Linked DNA regions of Homo sapiens: region 2 is linked to region 1. Evidence: promoter capture Hi-C in human tissues and cell types (Jung and others, 2019). All regions are on one chromosome and are shown on one strand. The core of a region is centred on a gene start or on the middle of the fragment in contact, and the rest is flanking DNA. Distances in the headings are between cores, read along the strand shown.

The links. The method cuts DNA at HindIII sites, captures the fragments that hold promoters and counts their contacts. A contact is called where the count stands out against the background at its distance.
Region 2: a fragment that was not itself captured here is called in contact with the fragment with the promoter of RBFOX2 in region 1 in 1 of the 25 tissues and cell types used here (heart right ventricle).

Annotation. Positions count from the first base shown.
Region 1 is chr22:36,027,467-36,035,126 of GRCh38, reverse strand. It overlaps RBFOX2 (RNA binding fox-1 homolog 2), which reads left to right and starts at 6,303. Exons shown (of 14, transcript NM_001349999.2): 1 at 6,303-6,887. The coding sequence starts at 6,702. RefSeq lists a silencer at 6,068-6,137. The HindIII fragment of the contact is 7,839 bases long and covers 3,162-7,660 here.
Region 2 is chr22:36,069,104-36,076,605 of GRCh38, reverse strand. No RefSeq gene overlaps it. Among named protein-coding and RNA genes, the nearest start is that of RBFOX2, 44 kb to the right of the region's middle. The HindIII fragment of the contact is 6,349 bases long and covers 2,437-7,502 here.

The DNA.
Region 1 (7,660 bases), core at 5,054-7,553:
GAGGACTTATTTTTCTCAAATAACAATAAATTAGCATAGACAGGCTCGGGCTGGTATGGTGGATCTACAATACTATTCTTTTTTTTTTTTTTTGAGACAGAGTCTTGCTCTGTCACCCAGGCTGGAGTGCAGCGGTGTGATGTCAGCTTTCTGCAACCTCTGCCTCCTGGGTTCAAGCGCTCCTCATGCCTCAGCCTCCCAAGTAGCTGGGACCACGTTGCACCAACACGCCTGGCTAATTTTTGTATTTTTAGTAGAGATGGGGTTTCGCCATGTTGACCAGGCTGGTCTCGAACTCCTGACCTCAAGTGATCTGCCTGCCTTGGCCTCCCAAAGTGCTGGGATTACAGACATGAGCCACCCTTCCCTGCAGTACTATTCTTAGCATGTGGCTTCTGCTATTTTGAAGACAAGATGTCTGCTGTTTTTCCGGTGTGTGTTCCAGGCAGGAGAAAGGGTGAAGGGCAAAGGACAAAGGGCAAAGAGCCTTTTCTTCTTTTCTTCTTGTGGCTTTGTCTTTTTTTTTTTTTTTTTTGAGACAGAGTTTCCCTCTTGTTGCCCAGGCTGGAATGCAGTGGCACAATCTCAGCTCGCTGCAACCTTTGTCTCCCGGGTTCAAGCGATTTTCCTGCCTCAACCTCCCAAGTAGCTGGGATTACAGGCATACAGCACCACGCCTGGATAATTTTTTGTATTTAGTAGAGACAGGGTTTCACCATGGTCAGGCTGGTCTCGAACTCCTGACCTCTGGTAATCCACCCGCCTCAGCCTCCCAAAGTGCTGGGATTACAGGCGTGACCCACCATGCCCAGCGGTTTTGTCTTATTAACTAGGAAGGAATGCTATCTTCCACCCACATCTCGCTGGCTAGGATGGTGTTACGTGGCCACCCTTAGCTTTCAGGGAACCAGAGAATTTTTTTTTTTTTTTAATTGCTAAGCAGATTTCTGTCCTGAACAAAATTGGGGTTCTGCTAGGATGGAGTAAGAGGAGAATGGATATTGGGTTGGTAACTACCAGTGCCTGTCACATAAATGAAGAAACCAGGCCTCAGAGATGCTAAGGTCTTGTCCAAGGTAAGATATATGGCAAAGTCAGACTCAGACCCATGTCAGTTTGACATCAGAGTCTATGTTCTTGGCCACTGTGAGAGATGACTCCCTTATCATAATGCATTGCAATTGTCTTTGGATTTGTTCATCTCTTCCTCCCTAGATTGTGAGCTCTTTGGGACTAAGAATAATTTTTTTTTTGTCATCTTGGTATTCCAGACACTTGCCCATAATTTGTTGAATGAATAAGTGAATAAATGTTAGAACTGCAACAGTTTCTGCAGCTAAAAATTCTTTCTAGGAAAATATTTTTATTTATTTATTTTTTAGACAGAGTCTCACTCTGTCACCCAGTCTGGAGTACAGTGGCATGATCTCAGCTCACTGCAACCTCTGTCCTCCTGAGTTCAAGCTATTCTCCTGCCTCAGCCTCCTGAGTAACTGGGATTACAAGTGCACGGCACCACACCCAGCTAATTTTTGTATTTTTTAGTAGAGACGGGGTTTTGCCATGTTGGCCAGGCTGGTCTCGAACTCCTGAGCTCAGGTGATCTGCCTGCCTCGGCCTCCCAAAGTGCTGGGATTACAGGCATGAGCCAGTGACCGAAAATATTTAATGTCCTCTTCCTCTGTAATGTTTCCTAACTACCTGCTTCTAAACAAATGGCTGCAGATGTATATAAAAGAAATGATCGGCCGGGCACGGTGGCTCACGCCTGTAATCCCAGCATTTGGGGAGGCCGAGGCGGGCGGATCATGAGGTCAGGAGATCAAGACCATCCTGGCTAACATGGTGAAACCCTGTCTCTACTAAAAATACAAAAAATTAGCCGGGTGTGGTGGTAGACGCCTGTAGTCCCAGCTACTCGGGAGGCTGAGGCAGGAGAACGGCGTGAACCCGAGAGGCGGAGCTTGCAGTCAGCCAAGATTGCACCACTGCACTCCAGCCTGCGCAACGGAGCAAGACTCTGTCTCAAAAAAAAAAAAAAAAGAAAAAAAAAAGAAAAGAAATGATCTGGTCTTTGTGCTGCCATGGATGCATTTTGCCTCTTCTATGATTTGTAGGCGTTTAACTCTCCTCTTTCTCCTTAAATACATAATGCTTGTTTCCAGGGCAGGGTCCAATTTTTCTTTGTTCTGCCTGGTCATTCAGACATTTCTATACTGCATTGCTCTGTTTCTAAGGGACTTGAGCGTTACCTGAATAACAAAAATTTGAGTCACTGGCAGCCCCGATCTCAAATCTCATTTCTTGCTGGGTCAGGGGACAGCCCAGGAAGATCTAACATCATTAAGATTTCAGTAGTTTGGCAAGGCAAGCAGGGAAGGGAGAATTCTCTTTTTTTGGAGAGAGAGTCTCACTCTGTAGCCCAGGCTGGAATGCAGTGGCGCGATATCGGCTCACTGCAACCTCTGCCTTCCAGATTCAAGCAATTCTACTGGCTCAGCCTCTTGAGTAGCTGGGATTACAGGCAGCTGTCACCACACCTGGCTAAATTTTTTGTATTTTTAGTAGAAATGGGGTTTCACCATTTTGCCCAGTCTGGTCTTGAACTCCTGACCTCAAGTGATCTGCCCGCTTCGGCCTCCTAAAGTGCTGGGATTACAGGTGTGAGCCACCATGCCCAGTTGGGAAGGGAGAATTCTTATGCTACCAGTTCAATAAGTAAAAATTTCAGAAGACCAACTGCTGATGTCCCTAGGTTAAAGAAAAAAAAAAAAAAGACAAAACCCGCTGTTGTTTCATAGGCCACCAGGAAATATCCTGGTTATCCCTCAAAGCCATACTGCTTGGTTGAACAGGATCAGGTTGTGGGGTACTGCCAAGTGGAAACCGCTGACTTAGGTTGGGGCTAATTCAGCACAAGAACAAGCTTGTAGGCACTTGGACTTCCACCTTGGTGGTCCAAATAATAATACTAAGAGATGTGTCAGGGCTGGGCGTGGTGGCTCACGCCTGTAATCCCAGCACTTTGGGAGGCTGAGGCGGGAGGATCAGTTGAGGCCAAGAGTTTGAGACCAGCCTGACCAACATGGTGAAACCCTGTCTCTGCTAAAAATACACAAAGTTAGCTGGGCATGGTGGTGCGTGACTCTAATCCCAGCTACTTGGCAGGCTGAGGCAGGAGAATCGCTTGAATCTGGGAGGCGGGGGTTGCAGTGAGCTGAGATTGGGCCACTGCACTCCAGCCTGGGAGACAGTGAGATCCTGTCTCAAAAAAAAGAAGAAGAAGAAGAAGAAAGAAGAAGAAAGAAGAAAGAAGAAAGAAGAAAGAAGAAAGAAGAAAGAAGAAGAAGAAGAAGAAGTTGTTTAAGGCTTCTCTTTCCAAGGCCCCTGGTTAAGCTTACTGTATCACTAACCAAATTAGTTGATGAATAATTACCACCTATTAAGCAGTTACTATGTTAGGCACTGTGCTAAGTGTTTACTTTTGTCCCATTTAATCCTTAGAACAACACTGTGACTATTATTGTTATCCTACAAATGAGGAATGGAAGGCTTAGTGAAACAAAGTAATTTGCCCAGCATAGTGGTTGCACCAAGGGGTTACTGGGGTGCTTTGCTTGCCGCATGTGAATCTCTAGCAGCCCCACTCAAGTCACCTTACATAATTAAAAAAAACCCAATAATAATGATAATGATATTCTTTGATCTTGACAATGAATGTTTTTTCACTCTCATTTAAAATGTGAATAAAGGTCAGGCCTGGTGGTTCATGCCTGTAATCCCAGTACTTCGGGAGGCCAAAGGGGGGGAATCACTTGAGGTCAGGAGTTCGAGACCAGCCTGGCCAACATGGTGAAACCCTGTCTCTACTAAAAATACAAAAAATTAGCCGGGCGTGGTGGTGGGCGCCTGTAATCACAGCTCCTTGGGAAGTTGAGGCACAAGAATTGCTTGAACCCAGGAGGTGGAGGTTGCAGTGAGCCGAGATCACACCACTGCACTCCAGTCTGGGTGACAGAGCGAGACTCCATCTGAAAAAAAAAAAGTGAATAAAGTGATAATGGTACTACTAATAAGCTATTATTAGTTAGCTATAAGTGTTAGCTGTAACACTTATGGAGCGCTTATCCTAAATCATTCCGTTCAAAGTTCTAAACGTGATAACATTAAATTCTTACAATAATCTTTTCAGGAAGGTATTATTGTTATCCTAATTTGCAGATGAAGAAACTGAGACACAGAGGGGGTAAGTAGCTGTCACAAGGCATCATGACTTGCAGGTGGCAGAGCTAAAACTCTGCTATTTTTACTGATTTATAACACAGCCTAAGTAATACAAACAATATGCTCAATACAACAACTCACCTTCAAGGCAAGTCCTCCCGACTTCCCTTCCAACCAGTCTGCAATCCCCAAACACCTTTTATATGGAAGTTCTTAGTCACCACTGGTCCCAGATTACGTGGGCAGGAGGTGGGAAGCCTGCGTTCTCATCTGGGTTGGTCTGACTCTGAAGCAGGGATCTTTACTGTTGTACTGTTCCAGCCCCAGCCAGGTTAAACCCAGGTTCAAAGGCCAAATCACACACTGGTTGGAAATGACCTTGGAAATCATCTAACCCAGCGTTTCTCAACCTCCGCACTATTGACATTTGGGGTTGGATAACTCTCCTGGGGGGACCGTCCTGTGCATGATAGGATGTCAAGCAACATTCCTGGCTTCTACACACTAGATGCCAGCAGCACCTCCCCACTGTAACAATCAAAAATGCCTTCAGTCGGCCAGGCGCGGCAGCTAACTCCTGTAATCTCAGCACTTTGGGAGGCCGAGGCAGGCGGATCACCTGAAGTCAGGAGTTCGAGACCAGCCTGGCCAACATGGTGAAACCCCATCTCTACTAAAAATACAAAAATTAGTTGGTGGCGCACACCTGTAGTCCCAGCTACTGGGGAGGCTGAGGCAGGAGAATCGCTTGAACCCAGGAGGCAGAGGTTGCAGTCAGCCGAGATCGCGCCACTGCACTTAAGCCTGGGCGACAGAGCGAGACTCTGTCTCAAAAAAAAAAAAAAAAAAAAAAAAAAAAATGCCTTCAGTCACTGACAAATGTGGGAGTGGAGGTGGTGGAATGGCAAAATTTCTCCTTGGTTGAAAGCCACTGATCCAAACCATCTCATTTTACAAATGATGGAGCTGAGGTCCAAAGAGATGAAGTAACTTGTTTAAGCTAGTTAGCAAAGCCAAGATTAGAATCCAGGTTATTCACGCAATATCCTTTTATTTCTATAACGTACAGGGCACGATATGGAACTCAGAGGAAGTCACTGCAGTCCTTGTCCTCACAGTCTGGTAGGGGAGAGAATCTATTGCACAGATATCTCTATCTCCACGAAGTTGGTAAGTCATAAAGTGCTCCTCAGGCAGCAAGGTACGAAGAAAGAGAATATGTTCTCGTGTTCTGAATTCCGGATCTGCCACTTTTTTGCTGCAGGATTTAACTAAGGTTCAGTTTCATCATCAATGAAATGGAGATCATGGTATCTACTTATATCACCAGTTTGAAACGGGTCTGTGGATGCATTGTGCAAACTCTAAAGCTCTTACAAACATCGGGTATTATTACTAACTTCATTAGGAATGTGAGTTATATTAGAGTAAAAGCTCTCAGAACTGGGGTGAACCATAGAGGGGTGGCTTCATTCCTCGACCTTCCAATTTGAGACATTTTTTCTTCTGCGGGAGGGGAAGCAGGCAAATAGCCTGCCTCTCACAGAGTGCCCATTCCCTCTCCGGGAACCAAGGTGCTCAGGCGAGTAAACTCAGGACTTAACTCTGTACAACTAGTACCGCAAGCAGGAGCCACTCCCTGGCCTTCGGGTCTCTCAAGCCCCGCCTGCTCCAGGATACGGCCCCGCCCAGAAAGGAGACAGACCCCGCCCCCCCCGCGCTGCCCCGCACTCCAGCCGCGCTGTGCCTCCAGGACAATCCCAGGCCCGTGCCGGAGATTCCCGAGCTTCCCCGATCGCTTCCCGGCCTCCCTCGGGCAGCCAGCGAGGAGACTACGGAGATTGCCGAGGGGGCCTGGCCCCGCCCCCCCCGCGGGCCGCCACCGCCCCCCTCGCCGTAGCCTCCCGCGCGGGCTGGAGTTCTACATCCCGGTCCCTCCCTCCCTCCCTCTTTCTCTCTCCCCGCCTTCCCGGTGCTGCCACAGTGGCGGGTCGGAGGATCCCGGCCAGTCAGCTCGTTCCTGCCTCGCGCCCCTCCTCCCCCCAAAATAAACAGCCCTCCCCACGCCTCGGGAGCCCGGACCGCCCCCTTCCTCCCTCGGCCGGCGTGCTGTGAGGGAGAGTGTGAGCCAGCGCGGCCGGTGGGCGAGCTCCGGGAGTGCGAGAGGCGGGGCGGCGCGGCGGGCCGGGCCGGGTTTCGCGTGTGCGTGCGGGGGCGCGAGCGAGTGCTCATCACGACCCGCCAGTGGCCCCGCGCCGACAACCCGGCGGGCGGGCGGGCGGGGAGCAAGCGGTCAGGCAAGGAGCGGCGGCCGCGAGGCGCGGAGGGGCGCGGAGTCCGCTCGCGCGCACGCACGCACGCACGCGGGGGCGGGGGCAGGCGCGCGCCCGCCTGTCGCGACAGTCGGGGCCGAGGCCCAGGGGGAGGTGGCCTGTCGCGGGTCGCCCGGCTCCCGGAGGCGAGGGGGGCGCGGGCGGATGGCGGAGGGCGCCCAGCCGCATCAGCCGCCTCAGCTCGGGCCCGGCGCCGCCGCCCGGGGCATGAAGCGGGAGTCGGAGCTGGAGCTGCCGGTGCCCGGAGCGGGAGGAGACGGAGCCGATCCCGGCCTGAGCAAGCGGCCGCGCACTGAGGAGGCGGCGGCCGACGGTGGCGGCGGGATGCAGGTGACCGCGCGGGACGGGGCGCCCAGTTATTGCGGGGGTGGGCGTGAGGGTCGACACCGGGCTCCCCGGCTTGGAGAGAGGGAGGGCCTCCGGGAGTCCTGGGTTGGAGGTGGGATGGGGGGCCATTCGGGGCCTGGTTGGAAGGTGGGGCGAGCTCGGGCTAGGAACGAAGGTTGCAGGACTGAACCTGGTGTGCCCGAGAGGGTCCTGATTCCTGAGGGGCCAGGAGGCACGACGAGTGGATAGGTTTTGGGGGGAAATCGAACAAGGTTGAGATGGATTCCATTTTTTCAAATCCTTCCTTAGTGCCTTGGGGTGGAGTGGAAGCCGGGAAATCCTGGCTTCTCTGGACTGAGTCGAGGAAAAGGAGATCTGGTGGGAAACCTCCCGAGAAGAGGGAGTACCTTTTGGCAGCCCTGGGCACACGCTGGGATGGGGAAGAGAAGTGGCATTTCAATGAGAGGAGTGAAAAGAAAACTCCTCGAGAGAGCCCCGAGGGGATGTGGCTGAGATTGTGGGTTAAATCACACAGAGTGTGAGAAGTACAAGGAGTTTGGTAATGTTATGGGGACACGGTGGTGCTCAGTCTCATTTACTTTGTGGAGCATACTAATGAGTCTGAAGGGAGACACTAGACATGTCCCTCCTGTTCTTTGCCAATTGCATTCTACATCACCAGGACACAAAATAGCTCTTTAATGTCCCGGGCTATAAAAAAAATTTTTTTATAGGGCTATTAGAAGACTGGATTCTCAATTCTGGATTGAAAGATA
Region 2 (7,502 bases), core at 4,362-6,861, 42 kb before region 1:
AGAGAGAGCTTGTGCAGGGGAACTCCTCTTTATAAAACTGTCAGATCTCATGAGACTTATTCACGATCAGATCACGAGAACAGCACGGGAAAGACTTGACCCCATGATTCAATTACCTCCCACCAGGTCCCTCTCATAATACGTGAGAATTCAAGATGAGATTTGGGTGGGGACACAGCCAAACCATGTCACCCACCACATTTTCAACCCCTTCCTATATTTGAGAAATGTCCGGCCCTGTGGGCCCCATCTCCCCATGGTGAAATCCAGAAATGTTGGCTTCCCAGGCTTCCTTGAAGCTCGGGCACTGACATGTGATCCAGTCCCACCAAGCAGGCAAGTCCCACCAAAACGAGGAAAAGGAAGTGTGAACTCAAGAAGGAGGCTCTGTGTGGTGAGAGTGGCGGCAGGATGCTCAGCTTTAGAGTGAAATCCTGGGTGCAGAAATGTCTCACAGGAGCAGCGGCAGTGGTAGCATTTTGCTTATCCCGCAGCAGTGGTGGGATCTTGCTTAACAGCTGTTTCTGTGGCTATCTGGGGGGAATTGATCCTGGAAGCTTTGCCTACAACCAGGTCCTCCAGCCCCTCAAAAATTCTGTGAGCTGGGCACAATGGCTCACCCTTGTAATCTCAGCACGTTGGGAGGCCAAGGCAGGAGGATCACTTGAGCCCGGGAGGTTGAGACCAGCCTGGGCAACACAGCAAGATCCCATCTCTACTGAAAATAAAAAAAAACTAGCCAGGTATGATGGTGCACGCCTCTAGTCCCAGCTTCTCGGGAGGCTGAGGTGGGAGAATTGCTTGGCCCTGCTCACACCTTTGCACTCCAGCCTGGAAGACAGAGTGAGACCCTGTTTCAAAAAAGAAACAAAATTCTGTGAGCTAACATCCTTTTCTGCTTAATCAGCCCGTAGGTACTTCTGTTCCTTGCCACAAAGAGCCCTGATTAATGAATGCTGTAATTCTCCTCGGCAGGTACCAGGTGGAAGAGCTTTCCTGGAGGGGCAGTTTTCCTCACTTGCTGGGGGATCGGAGGGGCGGGGGGAACTGCAGGCAGCCCTGGGGAATGCTGTCAAATTGCCTTCTACCCTAGCCCCAGGCCCAGGATCTTGTACCAAGTTCCTAGGGAGAGGGTGACTGACATGAAGACAACACTAAATCAGATAAAAAAAGCAATATGACTGGATGTACATGAATGACCTCTCATGATGTATGTTTCTATTTTTATTGAGACAAATTTCACAAACATAAAATTAGCCATTTCAAAATGTACTGTTCAGACGGGGCACAGTGGCTCATGTCTGTAATCCCAGCACTTTGGGAGGCCAAGGTGGGTGGATCGTTTGAGGCCAGGAGTTCGAAACCAGCCTGGCCAACATGGTGAGACCCCATCTCTACTAAAAATACAAAACTTAGCCAGGCGTGGTGGCACACACCTGTAGTCCCAGCTACTGAGGAGGCTGAAGCAGGAGGATCACTTGAACCGGGGGAGTGGAGGTTGCAGTGAGCTGAGATTGCGCCACTGCACTCCCAGCTGGATGGCAGAGTGCAATTTGTGCTCTAACATAAAATGATATCAAAAAACTCGTAGCATTCTCCACCTCATGCCAGAGACCTTGTCTCAAAATTTTTTAAAAAATGCGCTATTCAGTGGTATTTTTTCATTCACAATGTTATTTATGCAAGCATAATATCTATCTGGTTTCAAAACGTTTTCATCACCCCCAAAATAGACCCCATATCCATTGAGCGGTCACTCCCCCGTTCCCCCCTCTCCTTAGTCCCTAACAACCACTGATCTGCATTCTCTCTATATAGATTTACCTATTCTGGATATTACATATAAAGGGAATCATTTAATAAGTGACATTTTGTGTCTGAGTTCTTTCACTGAACATGTTTTCAGAATTCATCTACATTGTAGCCTGTATCAGTACATCATTCCTTTTTTTTTTTTTTTGAGACGGGGTTTCACTCTTGTTGTCCAGGCTAGAGTGCAATGGCACGATTTCAGCTCACTGCAACCTCCGCCTCCTGGGTTCAAGTGATTCTCCTGCCTCAGCCTCCCAGGTAGCTGGGATTACAAGCGCCTGCCACAACGCCTGGCTAATGTGTTGTATTTTTAGTAGAGACGGGTTTTCACCATGTTGGCCAGGCTGGTCTTGAACGCCTGACCTCAGGTGATCCACCCGCGTCCGCCTCCCAAAGTGCTGGGATTGCAGGTGTGAGCCACCACACCCAGCCCATTCCTTTATTGTTTAATTTAATTAATTTATTTTTTGAGACAGGATCTCTCTCTGTTGCCCAGGCTAGAATGCAGTGACATGATCATGGCTCACTGCAGACTCAACCTCCTGGGCTCAAGTAATTCTCCCACCTCAGCCTCCTGAGTAGCTGGGACTAAAGGCACATGCCACTACACCCAGCTAATATATATATACACACATATATATATATATATATATATATACACTTTTATATATATACACTTTTATATATATATACTTTTATATATATACACTTTTATATATATATACTTATATATATACACTTTTATATATATACTTATATATATACACTTTTATATATATACTTATATATATACACTTTTATATATATATACTTTTATATATATACTTATATATATATACTTTTATATATATACTTTTATATATATATACTTTTATATATATATACTTTTATATATTATATACTTTTATATATATACACACACTTTTTTTTTTGTAGAGGTAGGGTTTCATCATGTTGCCCAGGCTGGCCTCAAGTGATCCTTCTACCTCGGCCTCCCAAAGTGCTAGGATTACTGACATGAGCCATTGCACCAGGCCCAAAGCAGTTACTGTTTTCCATAGTAACTCCCATTTATCATTCCATTCAGTAATATGCAAGGGTTTCAACTTCTCCACATCTCACCAGTACTGGTTATTTTCTGGTTTTTGGATTATAGCCATCCTAGTGGATGGGAAGTGATATCTCATTGTGGTTTTGATTTGCATTTCCTTAATGACTAAGTATATTGAGCATCTTTTCATATGCTTATTGGCCATTTGTTTGTCTTCTTTGTTTTTGTTTTTCTGTTGTTTTTTGTTCCTTTGTTTGTTTCTTTGTTTTTTGAGACAGAGTCTTGCTCTGTCGCTCAGGCTGGAGTGCAATGGCGTGATCTTGGCTCACTGCAACCTCCACCTCCTGGGTTTCAAATGATTCTCCTGCCTCAGCCTCCCAAGTAGCTGGGACTACAGGTACATGTCACCACGCCCAGCTAGTTTTTGTATTTTTAGTAGAGATGGGGTCTCACCATGTTGGCCAGGCTGGTCTTGAACACCTGACCTCAAGTGATCCACCTGCCTCGGACTCCCAAAGTACTAGAATTACAGGCAAGAGCCATTGTGCCTGGCCTGTTTATCTTCTTTGGATATTCAACTCCTCTGCCCTTTTTTATCTATTTATTATTGTATACTGTCCAGTTTGTTATTATTATTGTTTTTAGATGGCTACAAAGACAGTGTGAGATCTCACACCTAGACTAGCTCTCTTGGTGGAAGGGCTTGGGTACAGACAGACAGCAGGGCTTCTGATTTTCTTAATTTTTTTTTTTTTTTTTTGAGATGGTGTCTCGCTCTCTCACCCAGGCTGGAATGCAGTGGCACGATCTGGGCTCACTACAACCTCTGCCTCCCAGGTTCAAGCGATTCTCCTGCCTCAGCATGCTAAGTAGCTGGGACTACAGGCGCCTGCCACCATGCCTGGCTCTTTTTTTGTATTTTTAGTAGAGACAGGGTTTCACCATGTTGGCCAGGATGGTCTCAATCTCCTGACCTCGTGATCTGCCCACCTCGGCCTTCCAAAATGCTGGGATTACAGGCATGGGCCACCATGCCTGGCCTCTTGTTTTCTTTATTTTTCTTCCCCACCCCCCCACTTTTTTTTTTTTTTTTCTTAAACAGAATCTCACTCTGTCATCCAGGCTGGAGCACGGTGACGCGATCACAGCTCACTGGAGCCTTGACCTCCCCAGGCTCAGGTGATCCACCCACCTCAGCCTCCCTAGTAGCTGGGACCACAGGTGTGCACCACCACACCCGGCTAATTTTTGTATTTTTGTTGTAGAGACAGGGTTTCACCATGTTGCCCAGGCTGGTCTCAAACTCCGGGGGTCAAGTGATCTGTCCACTTCAGCCTCCCAAAATGCTGGGATTACAGGTGTGAGCCACTGCACCTGGCCTCCTTTTTTTTTTTTTTTTTTTTAAAAAAAGCACAGAGATTGATTGGGATGGTGTAGGAGGCTTGCTAGAAGCTTTTATTTTAAAAAATTTCCCCCAAACCCTCCTTCTAAAAACAAATTTATAGGCCAGATGTGGTGGCTCATGCCTGTAATCCCAGCACTTTGGGATGACGAGGCGGGTGGATCCCCTGAGGTCAGCAGTTCGAGACCAGCCTGGCTAACATGGTGAAACGTGTCTCTACTAAAAATACAAAAATCAAACGAGCATGGTGGAACATGCCTGTAATCCCAGCTACTTGGGAGGCTGAGACAAGAGAATTGCTTGAACCCAGGAGTCAGAGGTTGCAGTGAGCCGAGATCATGCTTCTGCACTCCAGCCTGGGCAACAGAACAAGACTTTTTCTCAAAAAAAAAAAAAAATTATTATCCCTATTATACATGTAGGCCAATGTGCCAGGCAGTGGTCAGATGAGTAAACGGAGGCTCAGAGAAGTTAAGCTCTTGTTCAAAGGCAGGTGGCTATTAAGTTGTGGAGGGTAAGACTGGAACACAAACTCATACTTTTCCACTCTTCTATAGGGCCTCAGCTCTTTTCATGGCCAATAAAGTTTTAAACTTCTTTGGGAGGAGGTGTTTTTTCCAGCTCCAGTGTGGCAGGGTATCAGGCAAAAATGCTTTCATGACTGGGCATGGTGGCTCCACGCCTGTAATCCCCACACTTTGGGAGGTAAAGGCAGGATTGCTTCAGGCCAGGAGTTTCAGACCAGCCTGAGCAACAGAGCAAGACCCCCATCTGTACAAAAATAAAAAAATAAAAATTAGTCAGCTGGGTGGTGTGCATAGGTAGTCCTAGCTACTTGGGAGACTGAGGCAGGAGGATCACTTGAGCCCAGGAGTTTGAGACTGAATTGAGCTATGTTCATGCCTGGGCCACAGAGCAAGACCCTGTCTCTAAAAAGAAAAAAACTTTAAACGGCCGGCATAGTGACTCACATCTGTAATTCCAGCACTTTGGGAGGCCAAGGCAGATGAATCACTTGAGGCCAGGAGTTTGAGACCAGCCTGGCCAACATGGCAAAACCCCATCTCTACTAAAATTACAAAAATCAGCCGGGTGTGGTGGCGCATGCCTGTAATTCCCGCTACGTTGGAGGCTGAGGCACCAGAATTGTTTGAAACCCAGGAGATGGAGCTTGTAGTGAGCCATCATGCCACTGCACTCCAACCTGGGTGACAGAGTGAGACTCTGTCTCAAAAAATAATGATAATAAAACAAAGATGCCTTCAGCTACAAATAACAGACTGTCAAATTGCTAAGCTGTCTAAACAATAAAAATAGTTACCTCATTTAACAAGAAAGCTGGAAGTAGGCAGTTCCATTGCTAAGCCTTAGCTGCTCTACTAATCATGAAGAACCCATGTTCTTCCATCCTTTCATTCTGCCATGCAGAGTATGATACCTTTCATCTTCAGACTTGTCACCTCATAGTTGCAGTATGGCTGCCACAGTTCCAGCCATCACATTCTTTTTTAAATTTTTTTGAGACAGAGTCTCACTCTGTCATCCAGGCTGGAGTACAGTGGCGTCACCTTGGCTCACTGCAACCTCTGCCTCCCAGGCTCAAGCAATTCTCCTGCCTCAGCCTCCTGAGTAGCTAGGACTACAAGTGCCCGCCACCACACCCAGCTAATTTTTGTATTTTTAGTAGGAACAGGGTTTTGTCATGTTGACCAGGCTGGTCGTGAACTCCTGACTTCAAGTGATCCACCTGCCTTGGCCTCCCAAAGTTCTGGAAATACAGGCGTGAGCCACCATGCCCAGGCAAGCCATTACATTCTTTTTTTTTTTTTTTTTTTTTTCTGAGACAGAGTCTCGCTCTGTCGCCCAGGCTGAAGTGCAGTGGCACGATGTCGGCTCACTGCAACCTCCACCTCACGGATTCACGCCATTTTCCCACCTCAGCCTCCCGAGTAACTGGGACTACAGGCGCCCGCCACCACACCCAGCTAAATTTTTTTGTATTTTTAGTAGAGACGGGGTTTCACCATGTTAGCCAGGATGGTCTCGATCTCCTGACCTAGTGATCCACCCACCTCGGCCTCCGAAAGTGCTGGGATTACAGGTGTGAGTCACCACGCTCAGCCGCCATTACATTCTTATACAATTGTCTCCAAAGCCAGGAAGAAAAGGAGTAGTCAGAACAACAAGAAAAGTTAACTTTCCTCACTCTAGCTTTCTTGCTCCCTCCCTCACTCTTACTCTCTCTCCCACTGTTTTGTGTGTGTGTGTGTGTGTGTGTGTGTGTGTGTGTGTGTGTGTGTGTTTTGAGGCGGAGTCTCACTCTGTTGCCCAGGCTGGAGTGCAGTGGCATGATCAGCACACTGCAATCTCCGCCTCCTGGGTTCAAGTGATTCACGTGCCTCAGCCTCCCAAATAGCTGGGATTACAGGCCCACACCACCACACCCAGCTAATTTTTGTATTTTTAGTAGAGACAAGGTTTCATCATGTGGCCAGGCTGGTCTCGAACTCCTGACCTCAGGTGATCCACCTGCCTTGGCCTCCCAAAGTGTTGGGATTACAGGTGTGAACCACTGCGCCCAGCTTCCCGCTCTTTCCATCTACCTCACCCTCTCTCTCTATTCTGGCCAGGAGAGAAAATCTTTCTCAGAAGACTCTCCTTATATGTCATTGACCAGAACACGGTCACATGGTCACCTGTAACTGTAAAGGGAACCTGGGAAACCGAGCATCTGGCATTTTCCGCCTCTATGGTAGTCAGTAAACCTTGCTAGCCAGGAAGAAGGAGGGGAGTGGCTGGTGGCTAGGACCGTGGGAGTCCAGTGGGGCAGCAGCAGTGACATGGCCCTGAGGCAGTGACACAGGCAGCATCGTCGGTCTGGAGGAGAAACACGGACACAGCGTCTGGGAGCCTCCTAGTGAGTTCTGGACTGACCAAAGGACATGGGACAAATGCCAGGAGAAAGAAGAAGTCTGTTTTTGGTAGCTAAGGAGCACATGTGAGGGTCTCTGGGAGCAATAAAGGTAAATGGTGGGTCTGAGAGGGAAATTTTCAATAATTTTGCTAGAGACCAGTATAGCACAGTCATTAAAGCTGGATAGCACAGCTTTGGAAGCAGACAGCCCAGGTCTTAAATTCTGACACCCACTGACCAGCCGTGGAACACTGGGGCAATCATTTCACCTTTCCAGGCCTCAGTTCCTCTTTTGTAAATGAGCTAATAGCCATCCCTCCTTC